Regions from separate parts of the Homo sapiens genome. Here region 1 is linked to region 2. Evidence: promoter capture Hi-C in 16 types of primary human blood cells and fetal thymus (Javierre and others, 2016). All regions are on one chromosome and are shown on one strand. Each heading gives the region's core, a stretch centred on a gene start or on the middle of the fragment in contact. The rest is flanking DNA. Distances are from core to core; before and after follow the strand shown. Region 1 overlaps MRPL50 (mitochondrial ribosomal protein L50). Region 2 holds the start of TLE4 (TLE family member 4, transcriptional corepressor).

What was found. Contacts are between HindIII fragments. The CHiCAGO score rates a contact against its expected background, and 5 or more counts as called.
Region 1: a contact is called between a fragment that was not itself captured here and the fragment with the promoter of TLE4 in region 2, in 1 of 17 cell types (naive CD4 T cells). The highest score is 5.4, in naive CD4 T cells.

What each region holds. Positions count from the first base shown.
Region 1 is chr9:101,392,150-101,398,614 of GRCh38, reverse strand. MRPL50 (mitochondrial ribosomal protein L50) reads left to right here. Exons shown (of 2, transcript NM_019051.3): 1 at 1-114. The coding sequence starts at 23. Among named protein-coding and RNA genes, the nearest start is that of MRPL50, 3.2 kb to the left of the region's middle. RefSeq lists enhancers at 1-293, 1-354, 355-884. The HindIII fragment of the contact is 2,255 bases long and covers 123-2,377 here.
Region 2 is chr9:79,567,723-79,574,257 of GRCh38, reverse strand. It overlaps TLE4 (TLE family member 4, transcriptional corepressor), which reads right to left and starts at 2,293. Exons shown (of 20, transcript NM_007005.6): 1 at 1,423-2,293; 2 at 472-569. The coding sequence starts at 1,467. LNCARSR (lncRNA regulator of Akt signaling associated with HCC and RCC) reads left to right here and starts at 6,306. Exons shown (of 3, transcript NR_184113.1): 1 at 6,306-6,535. RefSeq lists silencers at 682-921, 942-1,411, 1,522-1,681, 1,742-1,861, 3,772-3,821 and enhancers at 752-1,364, 2,092-2,181, 2,222-2,271, 2,282-2,411. The HindIII fragment of the contact is 12,449 bases long and covers 1-6,535 here.

The DNA of each region.
Region 1 (6,465 bases), core at 1-2,500, about 22 Mb before region 2:
AGGCCCGTGGATCTCATCGAAGATGGCGGCGCGATCTGTGTCGGGCATTACCAGAAGAGTCTTCATGTGGACAGTCTCAGGGACACCATGTAGAGAATTTTGGTCTCGATTCAGGTAAAGCTTTATGGTGGACGGTGGGTCATGTTCAAGGAAAGTTAAGGAGGATTAGGGACGAATTCAAAATAGAGTGTTACGCCATCGTGGTCCCGCGCCTGATCAGAGCAAGGACAAGGAGGTCCGGTTAGGGTCCCGAGTTGAGAAGCACTCATTGAGTGGTGGGACCCAGTCTCTTCCACTCTCGGCCTTAGTTTTCTCATTTTATAACGGAAATACCACCCCCTTTCCTTTTCACTTCACTCATTCATTTATTTATTAAGCAAGCAGGATTAACCTCGTGTGCGAGACACCGAGTGTGTTGTCTGCAAACACATGAAAGCGCTTGGTAAACTAAACTCATTTGCCGGCTGTGTTTCTTCACAAGCAAGGTTCAGTAATGAAGTACTGCCTCCTCCTTTTGTTTGTTCATTCATTCAGTCATTCAACAGATTTCTTAGGGCCAGCATTACTCTAAGCGCCTAGGATACAGCAGGAAAAACAAAATCCATTCTCATCCTCGAGGTACTCCAACATATGAGGAAACAGGCCCACAGGAGGGAAGTGATTTTCCCAAAGTCACAAAGCAAGTTAATTGCAAAGCTGGATCTAGAACATATGTCTCCTAACTCCCCATCTACTGCTTTTTCTGCTGCACGGCTGCACCATGTGTAATTGTTTGAAGGTAAATCTAATTTGACTTAGATAGTGTTTAGGAAATCAAAACGTATGGTAGGAACCCTAGGGAGCAATGTATGCTCTCTTAGGTTTAAAACAAAAACCACTACAATTAGGAAAGATCTTTTTCATCAGTTCAGATATTAGCTTTCCCTCTTCTTTGGTCAATATTTGTTATTATCTCTCAAATCTCTTCCAAGTTTGTTTTATTCATTCACTCAACAAATATTTTTTAGGCTGTTTACTATATGCCAGGCTATATCTTAGGTGTTGTAAGAATACAGTGGTTACTAAAACAGACCAAATTTTTGTTCTCGTAGGGCATATGTTCTAATGGAGGAAGAAATGAACAAATGTGTAATGTAATTTCAGAAAGTGGTAAATTATGAAGAAAACTAGAGGAAATAGATTACTGAGAATGATGATTATATTTTCTTTACTATTTTAAAAATTTTATATATTTAAGATATACAACTTGATGTTGATTATTAGTCAAGATAATTATCATATTCATCTCTTCACATACTTTCTGTTTTGTTTTGTTTTAGAGAAAGGAGTTCTCACTATGTTGCACAGGCTGGTCTTGAACTCCTGGACTCAAGTAATTTTCCCACCTTGGCCTCCCAAATTGCTGGGATTCCAGGGGTGAGCCACCACACCTGGCCAGTTAGAATTTTTGTGTGTGTGGTGAAAACACTTAAGATTTACTCTCAGAAGATTTCAAGTATACAGTACAGTATTATTAATGATCGTCACCATGGTGTACATTAGATCTCTGGAACTTATTCATTCTACATAATTTAAATTTTACCTTTGTCCAACGTCTCTTCATTTCCGCCACCCCTGGTAGCCACCATCCTACTCTCTGTTTCTATGAATTTGACTTTTTTTTTGTTTGTGTTGGAGATGGAGTCTCACTCTGTCTCCAGGCTGGAGTGCAGTGGCGCTATCTTGGCTCACTGCAACCTCCGCCTCCCAGGTTCAAGCGATTCTCCTGCCTCAGCCTCCCGAGTAGCTGGGACTACAGGTGCCCGCCACCACGCCCGGCTAATTTTTTTATTTTTAGTAGAGACAGGGTTTCTCCATGTTGGCCAGAATGGTCTCGATCTCTTGACCTCATGATCCACCTACCTCAGCCTCCCAAAGTGCTGGGATTACAGGCGTGAGCCACTAAACCCGGCCTAATTTGACTTTTTAGATACTACATATAAGTGAGATCATGTGGTATTACTCTGTCTGGCTTATTTCTCTTAGCATAATATTTTCCAGGTTCATCCATGTGTTACAAATATCCTTTTTTAAGGCTGAATAAAATGCCATTTTTTGTGTGTGTATATATGCAAGCACATAATATATACATATATTCATACATAGGTACACATATACATATAGACACACTTATGGCATTTTATTCAGCCTTAAATATTGTGTATGTGTGTGTATACATGTATACATTTACATGTATACACACATGCTGCAATGAAGATGAGAGTGCAGATGTCTCTTTGAGATACTGCTTTCATTTCCTTTGGATATATACCGAGTAGTAAGATTGCTAGATCTTAGGATAGTTAGGATAGTTCTGTTTATAACTTTTGAGGAAGCTTAATACTGTTTTTTATAATGGCTATGCCAATATTCATTCCCACCAGCAGCATATAAGGGTGCCGTTTTTTCCATGTCCTCACCACACTTGTCTTTTTGGTAATGACCATCCTAATGGGTATGAGGTGATGTTTATTTGTAATTTTTTTTTAATGTTTATGGATGCATAATAGTTGTAGATATTTATGGGGTACATGTGATATTTTGATGCAAGCATACAATGTGTAATAGCCAAATCTGAATAGTTGACGTATCCATCACGTTATTTATCTCTTTGTTTTGGGAACATTCTAAATCTTCACTTCTAGCTATTTTGAAATACAAATAAATTACTACTAACTATAGTCACCCAATTGTGAAATCAAACACTAGAACTTACTCTTTTTAGCTGTAGTCCTCTTCTCTAACTGTATTACTCCTTTTAACTGTATTTCTAACCAATCTGTCTTCATACCTTACCTCCTCACTACCCTTCCCAGCCTCTGGTAACCATCAATTTATTACTACCTCCATGAGGTCTTTTTTTTTTTTTTGGTTCACACATAGGAGCGAGAACATGCGATATCTGTCTTTCTGCACCTGGCTTATTTCACTAAAGAGTGTCCTCCAGTTTCATCCATGTTACTGCAAATGACAGGATTTCATCCTTTTTTAATGGCTGAATAATATTCCATTGAGTATATGTACGGTTTTTTTAATATCCATTCATCCATTGGTAGAAACTTAGTTTGATTCCATATCTTGGCTATTGTGAATAGTGCTGTAATAAACATGGAGTACAGATATCTCTGTTAGACTGATTAACTTTCTTTTGGATGTATACCCAGCAGTGGGATTGCCAGATCATATGGTAATTTTATTTTTAATTTCTTTGGGAAATTTCCATGCTTTTCTCCATAGCAGTTGTACTAATTTACATTCCCACCAACAGTGTACTGGTATTCCCCTTTACATCCTTGCCAGCATTTGTTATTTTTTGTCTTTTAAATAATAGTCATTTTAACTCAGGTGAGATAATACCTCATTGTGTTATTGAGTTGCATTTCCCTGATGATTAGAGATCATTTTTTTTATATACCTGTTGGTCATTGTATATCTTCTTTGAGAAATATGTATTCAGATCTTTTGCTATTTTTAAATCAGGTTTTTTTTGTTGTTGTTACTGAGTTGTTTGGGTTCCTTGTATATTCTGGTTATTAATCCCTTGTTGGATAGTTTGCCAATTTTTCTCCTATTCTCTAGGTTGCCTGTTCACTTTGTTTATTGTTGCCTTTGCTATGCAGAAGCTTTTTAGTTTGATATAATCCCATTTGTTGATTTTTGTTCTTGTTGCCTGTGCTTTTGAGGTCTTAACTCAAAAGGTCATTGCCCAGACCAAAGTCCTGAAGCATCTCCCCAATGTTTTCTTCTACACAGAAGCTTTTTAGTTTAGTATAATCCCATTTGTCTATTTTTGTTCTTATTGCCTGTGCTTTTGAGGTCTTACTCAAGAAGTCGTTGCCCAGACCAATGTCCTGAAGCATCTCCCCAATGTTTTCTTCTAGTAGGGTTATAATTTTGTAACTGCCCAACGGGTTCACTTTGCCTAGACAGAGCTGATGTATCAAGGCAGAGGAATTGCAATGGAGAAAGAGTAATTCACGCAGAGTCAGCTGTGAGGATACTGGAGTTTTATTATTAGTCAAATCTGTCTCCCCGAAAACTTGGGAATCGGAGGTTTTAAAGATAATTTGGCAGGTAGGGGCCTAGGAAATGGGGAGTGTTGATTGGTTGGGTTAGAAATGAAATCATAGGGGGTCTAAGTGAGTTCTTGCCAACTTATGATCCTGGGTGGGATCACAGAACTGATTGAGCCAGATTACCGGCTTTGGTGGTGTAAGCTAATCCATTGAGTGCAGGGTCTGCAAAATATCTCAAGCACTGACCTTGAATTTTACAATAGCAGTGTTATCCCAGGAGCAATTTGGGGAGGATCAGACTCTTGCAGCCGGAGTCTGAATGACCCCTAACCATAATTTCTAATCTTGTAGCTAATTTGTTAGTCCTACAAAAGCAAACTGGTTCCCAGGCAAGAGGGAGGTCTTTTCAGAAAAAGGCTATTACCAATTTTGTTTCAGAGTCAAACTGTAAACTCATTTCCTTCCCAAGGTTAGTTTGGCCTATGCCCAGGAATGAACAAGGACAGCTTAAAGGTTAGAAGCAAGGTGGGGTCAGTTAGGTGTGGTCTTTTTTTTTTTTTTTTTTTTTTGCTTAGCATTACTTTGGCTATTCAAGGCATTTTGTGGTTTCATACGAATTTTAGGATTTTTTTTTCTATTTCTGTGAAGAACGTCATTGGTATTTTGATAAAGATTACATTGACAGTATATCGCTTTGGGTAGCATAAGCATTTCAACAACATCAATTCTCCCAATCCATGAACGTGGGATATCTCCATTTTTTGTGTGTCCCCTTCAATTTTTTTCATCAGTGTTTTATAGTTTTTATTGTAGAGACCTTTTACTTCTTTGTTGAAGTTTATTCCTAGATTTTTTGTGTGTGTGGCTATTGTTAATGGAATTGATTTCTTGATTTCTTTTTCAGATTGTTTACTATTGGCATATGGAAATGCTACTGATTTTGTATGTTGATTTTTGTATTCTGAAACTTTACTGAATTTATAATTTCTAAGAGTTTTTTTGGTGGATATTTAGGTTTTTCTAAATACAAGATCATATATCAACAAGATATATAAGATCATATATCTTACGTATGATACATAAGATCATATATCTTACGTATGATACGTAAGATCATATATCAAATAAGAACAATTTGACTTCTTTTCAATTTTGATGTACTTTATTTCTTTCTCTTGTCTAATTGCTGTGGCTAGGACTTCAAGTTCTGTGTTGAATACAAGTGATGAAAGTGAGCATCCTTGTCTTGTTCAAGATCTTAGAGGAAAGGCTTTGAGTTTTTTCCCATTCAATGATGCTAGCTTGTTTTGTGTCCTTGTTTGGTGGGTTTGTCATGCATGACCTTTATTATGTTGAGGTATGTTCCTTCAGTATCCAGTTTATTGAGAGTTTTTATCATGAAAGGATGTTGAAATGTATGAAATGCTTTTTCAGCATCTATTGAAATGATCACATGATTCTTGTTCTTGATTCTATCAATGTGATGTATCGAATTTGTTGATTTGCATATGTTGAACCATTCTTGCATTCTGGGATGAATCCCACTTGATCATGGTGAATGATCATTTTAATGTGTGGTTTAATTCTGCTTGCTAATGTTTTGTTGAGGGTTTTTGCATCTGTGCTCATCAGGAATATTGAACTGTAGTTTTCCTTTTTTATTTTGTCTTTGTCTGATTTTGGTATCGGGGTAATGCTGGTCTTGTAGAATGTGTTTTCCTTTTTTATTTTGTCTTTGTCTGGTTTTGGCCTCAGGGTAATGCTGGCCTTGTAGAGTGTGTTTGGAAGTATTCTCTCCTCTTCAGTGTTTTGGAATAGCTGTGGTAGAATTCGTATTGATTGGCATTAGTTCTTCTTTAAATGCTTGCTAGAGTTCAGTAGTGAAGCCATCAGGTCTTAAGCTTTTCTTTGATGGGAGACTTTTATTACAGCCTCTTTCTCATTATTTCTGTTTGGGTTTTCTTTTTCTTCGTGATTCAATCCTGGTAAGTTGTCCGTGTCTAGGAATTAATCCATCTCTTCTAGGTTTTCCAATCTATTGACTTATAGTTGCTTGTAACAATCTCTAATTAGCCTTTAAATTTTTGTGATATCAGTGTAATATCTCCTTTTTTGCCTCTGATTTTATGTATTTGTGTCTTCTCTGTTTTTTTTAGTCTAGCTAAAGGTTTGTTGATTTTAACTTTTCAATAAACCAACTTTTTAATTCATTGATCTTTTTATTGCTTTTTTAGTCTATTTTATTTATTTCTACACTGATCTTATTTCTTTCCTTCTACTAATTTTGGATTTGGTTTGTCTTTTTCTAATTTAAGGTACATCTTTAGATTGTTTATGTGAAGTTTTTCTTTTTTCATGTAGATGTTTATTACTATAAGCTTCCCTCTTACTACTGCTTCTGCTGTATCGC
Region 2 (6,535 bases), core at 1,044-3,543:
ATCGTCTATAAGATGAAAACATTTTTTTTTTTTTTAGCATAAAAGTAATGAAATCGCTCACTCCGACTTCCCTGGGCTCTCAGCTCTTCAGTGGAATGGCAGAAAAAAGTGAGAAGGAATCAAGTCCGGAGTAATAAAGAACCAAGGATGTCAAAAGGCCCCAGAATCTTCCCAACCTTTCATTCTCCCGGCCCCAATAAATCAATATCGAAAGTTTGGCCTCAGCGTTTTCCAAGTCTCCCCAGTTTCGATTGTTCTGCCTTCTTTTTATTTACGGTAGAAGAAATGTTTAATTTATTTACACCTGCCTAAGGAAGGAGGCCTTGATTTGCCCTTTCTGCCCACCGAGAAAAAAAAATAATACCTTTGTGACGCCCCCACAAAAAAGGAGGAGGGTAAGTGTTTGTGTGTATTTGTCGGGGAGACAAGAGCTAAGCAAACAGAAGGATCAGCTAAAGTCAATATCGTTACCTGTGGTATTGAGCCTGTAAAAACTGAAACTCTTCCTTAATCCGATCACAGGATTCGGAAATTGTAAATTTAAAGGGTTGAGCAGGCTGATGCGGTGCCTGAAGAACAACAATAAAATATTTAATTAGCCCACATCACAGGCGAAGCAGGGAGACGGAGAAAACCTACTATGCGGCGTTAGCGGGGGGTGAGGGTCATCGCGCACGCAAGCAAAGAGAGATTAAAACTCTCCTCCCGCAACCCTCCTCGCGCCCAACAGCCCAGGCAGAGGCTGGTTTCGAGGTGGTCCTGGGGCCCCGCATACTCCCGCCCGCAGGCCCCCGCGCCCCGGACCCCGAGGGTTCGAGTCCCGTCTCCCCTCCCCGGCCAAAGACAGGCACCCAGGGACCCGCGCGCCGCGCCCACTCCCTCCTCACCCGGAATCGAAACTGGCCCGTCGGGGGGACCCGCGCCATGGCGTCGGGCTGCGGTCAGGCCGGGGGAGGAGGGAGGCGGCCGCCACCCTCTCGGCTCGTTCGTTCGCCCGCTCGCCCCGGCGGCCCGCGGCGCGAGGGGCCGGCGCCCCGCACTTCCAAACCGCAGCCAGCCCAGCAGCGCCGCTGCCGAGGGCGCCCTCCCCGCCCGGGCGCGGAGTCGCGCCTCCTTCATCGCTCGCCACCCCCCCTCGAGGAGTCGCGGCGCGGGGACCGCAAACGGCTCGGCGCGGCTTCCAGGGGCTTCAAAGACAACAATAAGAAAATGGCTACAACTCAATTGCCTCTCCGCACCCCCTCCGAGGGCCACCGCGCCGGGGGGTGGGGGTGATGGCGGGCGGGCTGCTCCCGGCGCGGGGCGCCGATTTCGGGCGGCTCTCCACGCCCCTCCGGCCAAAAGACACAACTCGGTGCGCAGGGGGCGACGCGGGGAATCCCCCAGCACCCGGCGAGCCCGCGCCCCGCCGCCCGCACTCACTGGGTGTCTGGTCTGCGGGTACATCTTGCTCAGGTCGCGAATCATCCAAGCCGATTTAGTTGGCTGCGCTCGGCAGAGGCGCGCGGCTCATTGGCTTTAATGACCCCGAAGAGGAGGCGGCCGCGGCAGCGGAGGCGGCCGGCTCGGTCTGAGGGGCGGCTCGGGCGGTCCCGGCCCCCGCCGGGTCTCGCGTGACACGGGCGGCAGGAACGCGCGGCGGCGGCTGGGTGCCGGCTGCCGGGCCGCTCCGCATTCCCCGCGGGCGTCACTGGCCCGCCGCGGGCATTGTCCGGCGCGCGTCTCCCAAGGCAACGCTCCGACGTTCGCTCCGCCGAGGCGCACCCGCCGAGCCCGGCGCCGCGGCCGCCGCTCACCCGGCCGGGAAAGTGCGGGCTCCGCGCCCCACCGCCCGCCGGCAGCTCCTCTCGCTCGCTCTGCGTCCCACTCCAAACTTTTTTTATTTGTCTTTTAATTGGTTGTTATTCCTCCGAATGAATGATCTTTCTTCTTCCCTAAAAGCAAACACAAACTCCTTTGGTTCGGAAGAGGTCTCGGCGGTGCTTTTTGGTTTCTCTGGAGATTTTTTTCACTTCACAGCAACGATCTTTTAAAAGGCACCTTTTAGCTTCTTTTACCACATCTCATTTCCTTATTTCTCTTCCTTCCTGTTTTCTTGTCTTTTTTTTAACCCCAAATTGAAGGGGATTATAAAAATAAAAGAGTGAAACGCTTGCGGCTTTTTTTTTTAATTCTCTCTCCTTTCAAACTCTGCGAACACCACCTCAAAATAATATACAAGTGTGTGAGAAAGGGGGAAGAAAGCAGCCAACAACCCAAACACCCGCTCAGCACAGCTCTAACAACACGCTCTGTGTAGGTGACTTCTTTGACCAAATTTAGCAGCAGCTAATCATTAACATTCTGATACATATTCACAATCTTCCGCGGGGCGGCCGCGCAGCATCCCGGGAGATGTAGTCCGCCCCGGGCGACCCTGCCTGAGAATACGGCCAGATTGACTACAATCACCGGCCCGCCATGCGAGCGCTCTGGCGAGCTCTCCAAGCGCCCCGCCCACCCCCGTTGCGGTAGGCGTCTCCACCAACCAATCAGAGGTGGCTGAACATTAATCGCCGTTCTGTGTTAGTGCCCATCATTTCACTGCTGACAAATGGCAAGCCAGCGGGGAGGAGCCAACCCAGCTGAAACCCACGTGGGGGCCGGGCGTCGCCTGTAGCTCCGACCAATTAACGAAGAGGAATGAGGTTGGCGGAGGCGGGGCGGAGATGGCCCGCCCAAGGCGGAGCTTCGCCTTGGCTGACGTTCCTTAGCGCGAGCGTTCGAACCGGGAAAACATTTGTTCAGCTGTCAATCAAAGTAACGTGGGGCTGGGAGAATCGGCGGCTGCTGCTGTTGCTGCTGCCCTGGCTGCATCTTCAGAATTAGGTGTTGGTGGTGGTGGTGGTGGTGGCGGCAAAATAAAGAGGGTGGAGGGAGCGGTGAGCCTGGGGGCTGGTCAAAAGATCTTCTTCCGAGTCTCGTCCTCCCGCCCACCCGTCTCCCAACCCAGACACCTTCGGCCCCTCGCTCCGCAGCCGCGCCAGGAATGCGGACTAATTAGGGTCCAATGTCTCCTTAAAGAGACAAGCTCGGCCTTGTGTAACGCGCCGAAACCCCTGTTGAGACAAGAGGGGGAGGATCACGCTGATCTTACTTCGTTCGGTTCACATCAATTTTACGCGCCGCTGGAGCCGGCATAATTTTCCGTGTGAACGCGACTCGGTCCCCGTTCTTGTTTAGAGCCAGAAATGGAGTCGCGAGATGCTGGCTGGGGCCGGGGCCGCGGGGTGGGCGGGGAGCTCGTCCCTCCAAGCCCCGCGGGGGCTGTGATTGCCATTTAGTTCCGAAACAGGCCTCCCTCCCTCCACCCCCGGAGGCACTCGGAGAGAAAGCGCATCCCGACGCTCCATCGGGGGTCGCGGGGGGCAGTAACCGTGGGGGCTCCGGGTGGGGCTGAAGATCCGGGAATCAGAGACGCTGGACCTCCAAAGAAACTTTGCCGACTGGGCCACGTGAACCCCGAACACGGTCGGTACTGAACAGAGCAGGCCGACGGGGCACGGGTAGAAAACGCCCCTGCGCGCCCTGGGACGTTCCCTCCCCCAGATCAGTACCAAGACTGCGCCTCTTTTTCCCGCTCTTTGGAGAAGCAAGTCAAGTTTATCCCCGTTAAAAACAGAGCAGGGTGCCACGCGGGCCCGAGAGATGGCGGAAAGGTGGGGGTGGCCCCAGGGGCAGATGCTGGAGGAGGAGAGAAAGGGGCAGCCATGGCTGAGGAGGGGCACCCCTAGGGAGGGGCCTGGGAAATGGGGGCGGCCTCCGTCAGTGCGCCTTTCCATCCTTAGTCCGTGTCCAGCTGGAGGCAGCGCCCCAGTTCAAGGGGAGGCTGCTGAGGCTCGCAGTCTTTTCTAGCGAGCGGCTAATCTTGGGGACAGGGAAAAAATTCGGAAAAAGTCAAGAAGAGTGTTGGCTAATGTAACAGGCTGGGTTTTAGACGTTTATTTCTATGCGTGCTTGCCTACTGTAACTTGACCTGTTGGTTGAGATGGTGCCGCCGGTTCGGCGTTAGTGGAAAACTATTCTTCTTAATGATATCCCTTTCCTCAGTGGATGACTCGGTGACTTAATGTCCAACCTAGCACGTTCTGTGAACCTCCTTCCGTTCTGGCCACTGTAGTGAGCTGGTGCAAAGGAAGGCTATGGTGGTCTTCACCTGCCTCTAATTTCATACTAAAAACCCAGAGCCAAAGTTCACAGAATGTTTCAATTCGGCAAATATTTTCGCCTCCATCCCCAAAATAAGAGGACAGAGAAGTCCTTTTGACAGTTTTCTGAACCTCTGCTGTTCCATACCTAGCCACATGTGACTGTTAAGCACTTGAAATGTGTCCAATTCAAAATGAGATGTGCTGTAAGTACACATATATGTGGCATTTTGAAAAAATTAATGTGAAAAAACTGCAGCTCAATAATTTATAATTATGTCAAAATTGTGATATTTTGAATAACTCAATTAAAAATATTAGTAAAATTAATTTTGTCTGTTTCTATTTATTTATTGTATTGATGGGGGTCTTCCTGTGTTGCCTAGGCTGGCCTCAAACTCTGAAGCTCAAGCTATCCTCCTGCCTGAGCCTCCAGTGTTGTTGGGACTGCAGGCACACACTTTTTTTTTTTTTTTTTTTTTTTTTTGAGACAGAGTTTCGCTCTTGTTGCCCAGGCTGGAGTGCAATGGCACGATCTCGGCTCACCGCAACCTCCGCCTCCTGGGTTCAAGCGATTCTCCTTCCTCAGCCTCCCGAGTAGCTAGGATTACAGGCATGCGCCACCACACCCAGCTAATTTTTTGTATTTTTAGTAGAGACGGGGTTTCTCCATGTTGGTCAGGCTGGTCTTGAACTCCTGACCTCAGGTGATCCGTCCGCCTCGGCCTCCCAAAGTGCTTGGATTACAGGCGTGAGCCACCGTGCCCAGCCTCTTTTTACTTTTTTAACTTTGTTCCTAGAAGATTTTAAATTATGAGGCTTACATATTTCCATTAGACAGCCCTGCCCTGAAACCTTCCCAAGAATCAAAAGTGAGAAGACTTTAGTGATACAATTTGCACACGAGGACAGCGAAGTTTCTAAGAACACCAGCAACAACCATGTTTTATTCTAAGGTTGGTTAGTTGCTTGCTCCCACTAGAGCTTTTCAATGGTTTGTGAAATCACCCACAGTGCCTCTGTAGGAAGTTCCATGTTCTCTATTTTAGCCAGAATGTTAGCAAGTTCCATGAGAACAGGGACCTGGTTGTGTTCACAGTTGCACTCCAAACTCCCCAAATTATGTCTGCCATCACTGTCTGGTAGTTGGTGCTCAGTAAATATTTGTTGATGGCATTAATGAATGAATACCTCATTGCATCCTTATAGGAAGTTTCCACATCATTTGGGTCATATTTATTGAAATTCTGTGCAGTTTTCTCTCAGGACAGGAAACGAGAATTCTAAGAATAGAACCCGAAGAACTATTGAAAGGGTCAGTGGACAAAGAGGAAACTTTGCTCTGTTAGGAAATATCAGATCACTTATAGCAAGGATCTTTCCCCTAATCTCTCTCGATGGTTTGTGTCAACAGGAAAGTGGCTAGAGAAGTCAAGATGTTTCTTTATTTTTTAAGTTCTGTATTAAAATATAGCCCTTGGATGTGTTTCACATTTTGGCCACGTGGCAGAGCTATGTAACTCACCTCAATGTCTCAGAAAGATGCAAATGCAGCAACTGGCGGCCCAGCCCTAGCCGTAACACAGACTGTAAGTGGGGCTCATGGCCACTTTTTCTCCTTTTCTCTGCTGTGCTTCTCTCATTGCACTTCTCGCTAACTGTTGAGCCAAGCTATGATGTTATCTGGAGGCCTGTCTTATCCCTACCACAGAGTGGGGGGTAGGTGGGGTGTTCCAGAGTTTTCATGTGGGAGGCACTTGGCAGCAACTTTCATGTTAAAAGCTAGGCCTGAAAGCTCCAATCTTGAAGTGACATATGCCAAGCATGCTTTTCACTTTGGTTAGATGTAAATCATTTATTTATTACTTCACCAAATATTTATTAAACCTACTATGTGCCAGAATATGGGGATTTCACAATAAAAGTGGCTATTATTAATATGTTGCCTCTTAGCTCCAAATTCATCCTCATTGCCTGCCTAGTGAAACTGAATCTGAGCCCTTTAAATATTTTCCAGCTGTTAAAAAAGCTAGGTCAATAGAAGGCGCTGGAGAGACATTGCAGGAGGAAAGGGTTTGGTTTCCTGGTTCCTGGCTCTGGTTGCATACTGGGCAGGTTCCTACAGCACAGGTAGCAAGCAGCAGCACCCAGCAGCCAGCAGCTTCCTCCAGAAGCCCCTTAGGTGGCTTTGGAGCAAGTGCCTCTAATGAGTCACCTCCCTCAGCAGCTTTCCTTGGAACCCCAGAGAATGGATTTCCAACGAGTTCTGGAATGTGGATTTCTAGCAAGTTCCAGAAGGCAGAATTCTAGCAGGGCTCTCCTGCTATTCAGAAAGTTACAACTGTGCC